Linked DNA regions of Homo sapiens: all the other regions are linked to region 2. The links are contacts of gene promoters, found by promoter capture Hi-C in blood cells and fetal thymus (Javierre and others, 2016). All regions are on one chromosome and are shown on one strand. The core of a region is centred on a gene start or on the middle of the fragment in contact, and the rest is flanking DNA. Distances in the headings are between cores, read along the strand shown.

The links. Contacts are between HindIII fragments. The CHiCAGO score rates a contact against its expected background, and 5 or more counts as called.
Region 1: a contact is called between the fragment with the promoter of HSPH1 here and the fragment with the promoter of NUP58 in region 2, in 1 of 17 cell types (total B cells). The highest score is 9.3, in total B cells.
Region 3: a fragment that was not itself captured here is called in contact with the fragment with the promoter of NUP58 in region 2 in 1 of 17 cell types (total B cells); the score reaches 6.8 in total B cells.

Annotation. Positions count from the first base shown.
Region 1 is chr13:31,160,328-31,163,240 of GRCh38, forward strand. It overlaps HSPH1 (heat shock protein family H (Hsp110) member 1), which reads right to left and starts at 1,577. Exons shown (of 18, transcript NM_006644.4): 1 at 1,149-1,577. The coding sequence starts at 1,255. LOC105370148 (a long non-coding RNA gene) reads left to right here and starts at 2,333. Exons shown (of 3, transcript XR_941825.3): 1 at 2,333-2,913. RefSeq lists enhancers at 671-1,216, 1,217-1,762, 1,374-1,453, 1,584-1,703, 1,934-2,203. The HindIII fragment of the contact is 12,297 bases long and covers 630-2,913 here.
Region 2 is chr13:25,300,117-25,302,885 of GRCh38, forward strand. It overlaps NUP58 (nucleoporin 58), which reads left to right and starts at 1,509. Exons shown (of 16, transcript NM_014089.4): 1 at 1,509-1,764. The coding sequence starts at 1,658. RefSeq lists enhancers at 1,165-1,404, 1,565-1,644, 1,755-1,804. The HindIII fragment of the contact is 2,784 bases long and covers 1-2,240 here.
Region 3 is chr13:32,313,131-32,315,908 of GRCh38, forward strand. ZAR1L (zygote arrest 1 like) reads right to left here and starts at 2,233. Exons shown (of 6, transcript NM_001136571.2): 1 at 2,185-2,233; 2 at 1,200-1,420. BRCA2 (BRCA2 DNA repair associated) reads left to right here and starts at 2,378. Exons shown (of 27, transcript NM_000059.4): 1 at 2,378-2,537. RefSeq lists a silencer at 1,429-1,649, a cis regulatory region at 1,768-1,834, a promoter at 2,163-2,659 and an enhancer at 2,768-2,778. The HindIII fragment of the contact is 856 bases long and covers 1,101-1,956 here.

The DNA of each region.
Region 1 (2,913 bases), core at 327-2,826, 5.9 Mb after region 2:
CCTAACGTTACTAACATTGCCAAATATTTTGCCTCAGATTTTCCACTCAACTTTCATAAACGTTCTCAGCACCCAAATAATTGTATTACCCCAGTCATTCATTCTACCTTTAGGTTCAATGTTTTCATTTTGCACTTTTCATCCTGAGCTTGGGACATTTGAAAAAAATTAATAGGTACAGTATTTTCCTTGAGATGAAATCATTTGTTTTCATCAATGCACATGCAGATATGTTTGTATATATTCTCGTCCGAAAATATCCCTTCACGAAACTTGCTTTTTAAAATGTTGCCCTTTGCCCACCCTATGCTCCTATAGAATATTTAGTTCAGTGACGACATCCATCCTCTTTTGGCGTCCTAGCACAAAAGTATGCAATTTTTATTCTCTTTTAAATAAACTGTGCAAAATTAATTTTAAAAATACGGTTTACAATTCCTCATGAATGGCAAAGAGCAAAAAAAAAGACGTTTACATCTTTCGACAATGATCCCGGGCATTAAGGCCAACAATGTTAGCAACGAAGAGACTGGGTAAAAAGAGGTGGGCTAATCTTTCATAGGACTGCTTCCGTGGTCGCTAACAACAATCCGCCTGCTCACTGGACAAGCAGCGACACAAGCTCTGGAAGCTTCCAGTTCATTTCGAGATTCACAATGCGGAAGAAAAAGGCCGGCAGCCCCGCTCCGCGGTGCGCAAAGATATGCGCGAAGGGAGGAGGACAAGCTGGAGGCGGCTCAGCCAGCTCAGAGAGGCCGGGTGGGGATACGGGGGCGGCCGCGGAAGGCGCAGGCTGCAGCCTGCCAAGAAAAGGGAGCGAAGTTGCGGGCTTTGCCGCAGCCCGACCCCCAGTAGGTTTTGAAAACCCCCAATAGGAAGCCCGCACAAGGTGACGACCCTTAGAGTCTCGACTCTGGGACTCCTCTCACCCCCGTGAATCCCTGAGACAATCCCTTCTCCAATTTGTGATGGCAAGCCCCCCATCCCTCCTCTGGCCGGGTCGCTGGTCCCTAGTTCCACGGAGGGGTGCGCCGCTGCCCAAACGCCTCCGTTTGCCGCGGTGATCCGTACAGCCAGCCCGCGATCTTGGGTCCCCACACTAAGGGCCCAGAACCTCCTCCCATCCACCCTCGCAGACTCCCACTTACGGGGTGCACCGGTCGCTGAACTCATTGGCGATGGTCTCGATGCCCCCGGCCCGGGCTACCGCGATGTAGCAGCTCTGCGAGCCCACGTCCAACCCCACCACCGACATGGCCGGCTCGCGGTCCGCCTCCGCCTCGGGTCTCGGTCTGCGTCCTCCGGCCCCCTGCCTGCTTCTCCTGCCGCCGCTTTCTGCCCTGGCCGCGTTCTGCTCCGGCCCGCGGGGTCTGGCCGTTCCTCTGACACTCAGAAGGACACACAGACAGCCGCGGCCTGTCAGGAGCCTCCTACTCCCCCGGGGACAGCGGCGGCTGGCTGATAAGAAACCCTGGGAGAAAGCGGGGCTCAGCCTCCGCAGGTCGCTCCGCACCTCGGGTTGCCTGCCTCACTCTGCCGCGGCTCGCACACCGGCGCCGGCGCTGAACTACCGACCCAAAAGGGGAGGTCCCACTTCCTCAGCCTTATGTATCGCACTGATCAGAACTTTCCAGAATCTGCGGCATTTACTCACCGGCGCCTCCACCGGCCCCTCCACGTGCCACTTCCGCTTCCTTCTTCTCGAGCCTTCTGGAAAGATTCTACCCAATGGGCAGCCGGTCCCCGGAGAACGGCCGCCGTTGCCATGGCAGCGACAGGGCCGCTCCCGTGCCATTGGCTCAAACCTGCCTCCGCCCACTCCCGCCCTAGCCACAGGCGTTTTGCTGCCCTAATAAAACAGGCAACGAAGAATGACTCCAAAACTCGGAATAGTCACAATTTACTACCGGGAGGTGGTGTCCGATCCTTAACGCTAAAGGGAGGCTGGGCGGGCGGAGACAGACCCCATTTTTGCAGAGACCCCAGACACCGGGATGGTGGGGAGGCCGGCCAGCTGTCCGGAGAGCATGTTGGGAATCGTAGTCCCGCTGGGAGAAGTGTGCGCCTTGCATGCTGGGATGTGTAGTCCTGGCCGCAGTGCTTGCTGGGACCCGGCTTTGTCTTCTGGGACTCGCGAGAGAGGCTGGGTAGGGTTTTGTCTGGCGCTTTTGCGCGGGTTCCCTGGCAATAAGCGTCATTTTGTTCGTTTGTTTTGTATTCACTTCTATTATTGTCTGGATTACCCCGACAACTGGTGCGTTACGACTTAGGAGAAGGAACACCAGTTCAAACCGCTTATAATAAAAGCAAAGGGGTTGTGTTAAGTGTTCTTGTATTCATCAGGCAGCAGGATGATCTCTTGTGGAGTAAAATGTCAGGTGTTTTTTTTTTTAAGAAATCGATTTTTAGTTGTGACGTCATTTGGCAGGCTGTCCACGGTATCACTTTCTGCTTATTTTTAAAAGGTCTGATTTAAGCCGACGCTGTTCTACCCTGCCACTCCTAGCCATAAATTGGTACTGTGTGTAAGTTTTGCTTTTTGTTTGATCTGAAGCAGCTTTTGTTTCTTTCCCTCAGAAGCGATGTCCCCGTTAACTTTTGTTCAGTAAAGAGACAGTGTAAGAAAAGGTGGAACTGTGTTGCTGATAACTTATCAGGTCTTTTATACCCTTTTGTGTCTTTTTAAGTTTGCTTCTGATCCCTGAGTTTACCTTATGTCAGGCATGTGGAAGTATAAGCACAGTTCAAATATGTTATTGGATAAGCGTGTAATTGAATAAGGAGTTGTAACCTAAAGTTAGAAAAATCTAACTCATAAAGAGTATGGGAATTCCTCCTTGTCTATCAAAACAAGTTGGTTAAGTCAGAGGCAAGACGAAAGGCCCAGGTTTACATTACATGTAAATTGTATGT
Region 2 (2,769 bases), core at 259-2,758:
ACTGAGGTGGCTATAACAACAGACATTTACTTCTCTCAATTCTGGAGGCTAAGTCCCAGATAAAGATGGGGCAGTTTGGGTTCCAGGTGAAAGCCCCTTCTTGCTCTGTCCTCACATGGCACACAGAGGAGAACAAGCTCTTCGTTGTTTTTTCTCATAAGGGCACTAATCTCGCCATGGGCGACCCACCAAGGTGACCTCATCTAAATTGAATTACCTCCCAAAGGCTCCATCTCCAAATACCAACATATTGGGGTGGGGTAGGGCTTTAACATATGGATTGGGGGAGGAGGGAAATAGTTCAGTCCACAGCTGGTGGCAATGCCCAAGCTCAACGGAAGATTAAAGTACTGAATTAGGGAGAACTGTGAGATGAGGTTAGAAAGACTAATCATACGGAGGTCATCAAGTGCCAAACTAAAGAGCCACTGGGCTTTTTAGATCATAAATCCGGGGGTTGCTTATGGGATGGATTTTGTTAGAGATCACGAGTAGGAAAACCATTTGGGGGAGTAATGTAACAATCCCTGAGGGAAAAATAAAAACTAACACTATGATGACAACCCTCGAATGCACCACCACCAGGAAGCCTTTCCTGATGCTTCGCCAGAGAGGTTCTCTTTAAACGCGAATTTTTCTTGAGTTATCCTAGAAATGTAAGTTACACCTCACATTTCGCCTTCTTTCGTACATGTTCCTGTGCGTTTCCTAATCCTTCCACTTTGTAGTTCCTCCAGCACCGGTTGTGTCCGAGGGCCCTTCTGGCGGAGCCACACTCGCTCGGCCCAAGGTCCCGCCCTCCAGCATCAGGATGCACGGACAGTATTTGTGGACTTGACCGCATCCCAGGAAATCCAGCGGGCCTGGCCACTTCTGGGCGCCAGGACCACAGCCGGCCACCCCACGGACGCCTGGGACGCTCTTCTGGGCCCCCTTCGGGGCTGGGCGTCGGGCTCGCAACAACTGCGACCAACTGGCTCCGCGAGGCCTGGGGCGCAGGGGTGGGGCTCACGTCGTGGGACGGTTGCATGGATTATTTTCGATTGATTTCCGAACCTTCAGGAAGCAGACACGCTCCCCTTCCTTCTTAGGGATGGGGCGGCAGCCAACGAAAGCCCGAAGCCGCCTCCTTTTCTGAGTGGGGAGCTTAGAGATGCTCAGGAGGGACCTCCCCGATTCTGCGATTCTGAGCATCAATTTTGGCAGGAGGCTAGATAGAAGTAGCAATTGACATTCATCACCCTAAAGTGCGGATTATGTCAGTACAGATGCTACGATAGAAGAACTAAAAAATGACAGAAATGGTTTTACTGTTTTTAAACTCTGGGAGCCTACTCCTTTAAGAGATTAGGCAGTACGCCTATTCTCGCCTGGTCCCAGCGTACCTTGCGCGGCTCGCCGTCCCCCACTCACGTACCAGGGCTCATTGCGTGACGGTTACACTTCCGGCGGGCTACGTGCGCGCGGCGAGCGCCGGGCGTACTTTTGCGTGGTTGCTCCACCCCCTCAGCCTTGCCTTCGCCGCCGTTGGGGCTGGAAGTTCCCGCCAGGTCCGTGCCGGGCGAGAGAGATGCTGCCCGGCCCGCCTCGGCTTTGAGGCGAGAGAAGTGTCCCAGACCCATTTCGCCTTGCTGACGGCGTCGAGCCCTGGCCAGACATGTCCACAGGGTTCTCCTTCGGGTCCGGGACTCTGGGCTCCACCACCGTGGCCGCCGGCGGGACCAGCACAGGCGGCGTTTTCTCCTTCGGAACGGGAGCGTCTAGGTAACCGCACTTTCTCGCCTTCCTGGGCCGGATTCACCCCCACCCCCACCCCCGCAAAGCTCCCTTGGTGTCCCCATCCTGTCTCTTCCCTCTGGCTTCCTTCCCAGTGGGGCTGGAGAGAAGCACTTAATCTAGCCGCCCGGCGTCGTAGGCCTCTCGCCGCGGTACCCGGGCCCAGCGCGGCCTGGTGAAGTGGAGGGCGGGATGGGTTCTGTGCTGTGAGGTTTCCAGAATCCACGTATAGTTCAGGCATTATTTGGACCTAGTGGGGTCTTGACTGCGTGGAAGGGCCTTGGGGTCTACCCCGGAGCTTTAGCGATGTGTCAGTCTTAGGCATAGAATGAACATTGAATGAATGAATGAAATTATAGCATACTGTGGAGTTTTATGATAGATAATTCCGATTTCATTGCAGCATTTGCGGTTTTGGATATGACGGTGTTTTAATAACTTTGTGGTTTTTAACCAGCTTTTCAAGCTTTTGTGCCACATGGGACCTTATCTGTTTTTGTTAAAAAAAACAAAAACACTTTTTTACAGTGTTTATTAGTGGTAATTTTCTGCAGTATGTGCAGATTAGTATATCTGATGCGAGAATGTTGTGTTGTAATAACTCAATTTGTCTTTTACTTAAATTACAAAACGTAGGTAGCATGTTCCTTGTTTTTGTGCAACCCATTAGTTCAGGTGGCGACAAAAACATAACTATCCAGAAAGAAACAAAGTGGTGAGACATTTTAATGAGAGATTTAAGCTTTAGAACTCAATTTTTTTTAAGATAAAGGTGGAGGGGTTCATAAAGTTAAGGAGTGTGCACACTGTCAACAAGATACTTCCTGAAGCTTAAAAGATGTGGCTGTAGATTTAAAAGGCAAATACTTAAGCATGACCTGCAGTTTAAAAAGGGAGGGAGGAGGAACCACGGACTACACAGTCAATTCAGAAATTTGAATTTTCATCCATACCTCCGTTATTCTTACTCTACTCGCTCAACAACAGGTTCTG
Region 3 (2,778 bases), core at 279-2,778, 7.0 Mb after region 2:
AGTCTAGAGATCTAATTTACAGCATAACGACTACAGTTAACAATACTGTATTTTATACTGAAAAGTTTCAAAGAGAAATTTCAGGTGCTCTCACCGCACACAAAAGAAAGGTAATTATGTGAACAGATGGATATGTTAATTGCTTGACTATAGTAATCATCTCACTGTGTACATATACATGTTGTGCACATTAAATATATACAACTTTTAGGAAATAATGGTTTTTTGGGTTTTTGTTTGTTTGCTTGTTTGAAATGGAGTTTCCTTGCTCTGTCTCCCAGGCAGGAGTGCAGTGGCATGATTTCGGCTCACTGCAACTTCCGCCTCTGGGGTTCAAGTGATTCTCCCACCTCAGCCTCCCAAGTAGCTGGGATTACAGGCACATGCCACCACACCCAGTTAATTTTTGTATTTTTAGTAGAGACAGGGTTTTGCCATGTTGGCCAGGCTGGTCTCGAACTCCTGACCTCAGGTGATCTGCCCACCTTGGCCTCCCAAAGTGCTGTGATTACAGGCGTGAGCCACCATGCCCAGCTGGAAATAATGTTTTTAAGAAAAATTAAAGCATATTGTAAATTGAATACAAATAGTAAATTGAGCAGCTGCACTAGAAGAGAATAGGTGAGAAAGTCTATTATGGTGGAGCTAATAAGTTGCAAGTCCCTGGTACAAAGAGAACAAGAAACATAAAGGTATGGGGGGCTGTATAAAATGACAGAAAATGTTATTTCTGAGACTTGTGTGACATGCCACGGGTTCTCATTAGTCCACTCCTAGTGAGACACCCCTCCCCCACAAAAAGGGGACAAAGCATATTGTTCTGATTTATAGGGTAAATAAATCACAGGTTAGTTAAGTGTATGAAGTCAAATGGACTAGAATTCAAACCTGGGCCTTACTACCAGGCACATTACTTAACTACTTGATTCAGTATCCTCATCTGACAATACTGACCAATTTACAGGATTACTGTAAGATTAAACATGGTATTGCTTGAAAACCCAAAGCAGAATGCCTAACTCATAAAATGTTTGGTAAGTGGCAGCTGTTATTAGTAAGGATCACAGACGTATTTCTTTGCGAATTAGACTTAGAGCAAAAGCTTTAGAATCTATCTGCATTAGTAAGGCCTCCTTCTACAACTAAGGATTACTGATTATCAAACTAAAATGGTCCCTAAGGAACCAAGCGGAGCCCACCCTTTTCCTAATCCAAGGTTGCTTCTGTTTACTGCTCAAGCACCTTCTGGAAGCAGCAAGGCCCCCATGGGAGCAACTCTCACTGAATCCATTTGAAGGTTTTGTAGGTCTTACAACAAACCCTATTCAGCCTTGTATTAGGCATGTTACAGAACCAACGAATTCGGAGATGAAGTCAGGTCTTCCAGTTCAGCCTGCGAGGAAGACAGGTGATCCGAATCCTAAGAATGCAAAAGATGGGCCGGGTGTGGTGGCTCATGCCTGTAATCCCAGCGCTTTGGGAGGCCGAGGCAGGCAGATCACCTGAGGTCGGGAGGTTGAGACCAGACTGACCAACAACGGAGAAACCCCGTCTCTACTTAAAAATGCAAAGTTAGCCGTGCGTGGTGGCCCATGCCTGTATTCCCAGCTACTCGGGAGGCTGAGGCAGGAGAACCACTTGATCCCTGGAGGCGGAAGTTGCGGTGAGCGGAGATTGCGCCATTGCACACCAGCCCGGGCCACAAGAGCGAAACTCCGTCTCAAAAAAAAAAGCAAAAGATACTACCAAGCCCTGCGGAGCAAGGTACCTCACACTTCATGAGCGAGTTAAGATGGGTTTCACAATTTTTCAAGCAAGGAAACGGGCTCGGAGGTCTTGAACACCTGCTACCCAATAGCAGAACAGCTACTGGAACTAAAATCCTCTGATTTCAAATAACAGCCCCGCCCACTACCACTAAGTGAAGTCATCCACAACCACACACCGACCACTCTAAGCTTTTGTAAGATCGGCTCGCTTTGGGGAACAGGTCTTGAGAGAACATCCCTTTTAAGGTCAGAACAAAGGTATTTCATAGGTCCCAGGTCGTGTCCCGAGGGCGCCCACCCAAACATGAGCTGGAGCAAAAAGAAAGGGATGGGGGACTTGGAGTAGGCATAGGGGCGGCCCCTCCAAGCAGGGTGGCCTGGGACTCTTAAGGGTCAGCGAGAAGAGAACACACACTCCAGCTCCCGCTTTATTCGGTCAGATACTGACGGTTGGGATGCCTGACAAGGAATTTCCTTTCGCCACACTGAGAAATACCCGCAGCGGCCCACCCAGGCCTGACTTCCGGGTGGTGCGTGTGCTGCGTGTCGCGTCACGGCGTCACGTGGCCAGCGCGGGCTTGTGGCGCGAGCTTCTGAAACTAGGCGGCAGAGGCGGAGCCGCTGTGGCACTGCTGCGCCTCTGCTGCGCCTCGGGTGTCTTTTGCGGCGGTGGGTCGCCGCCGGGAGAAGCGTGAGGGGACAGATTTGTGACCGGCGCGGTTTTTGTCAGCTTACTCCGGCCAAAAAAGAACTGCACCTCTGGAGCGGGTTAGTGGTGGTGGTAGTGGGTTGGGACGAGCGCGTCTTCCGCAGTCCCAGTCCAGCGTGGCGGGGGAGCGCCTCACGCCCCGGGTCGCTGCCGCGGCTTCTTGCCCTTTTGTCTCTGCCAACCCCCACCCATGCCTGAGAGAAAGGTCCTTGCCCGAAGGCAGATTTTCGCCAAGCAAATTCGAGCCCCGCCCCTTCCCTGGGTCTCCATTTCCCGCCTCCGGCCCGGCCTTTGGGCTCC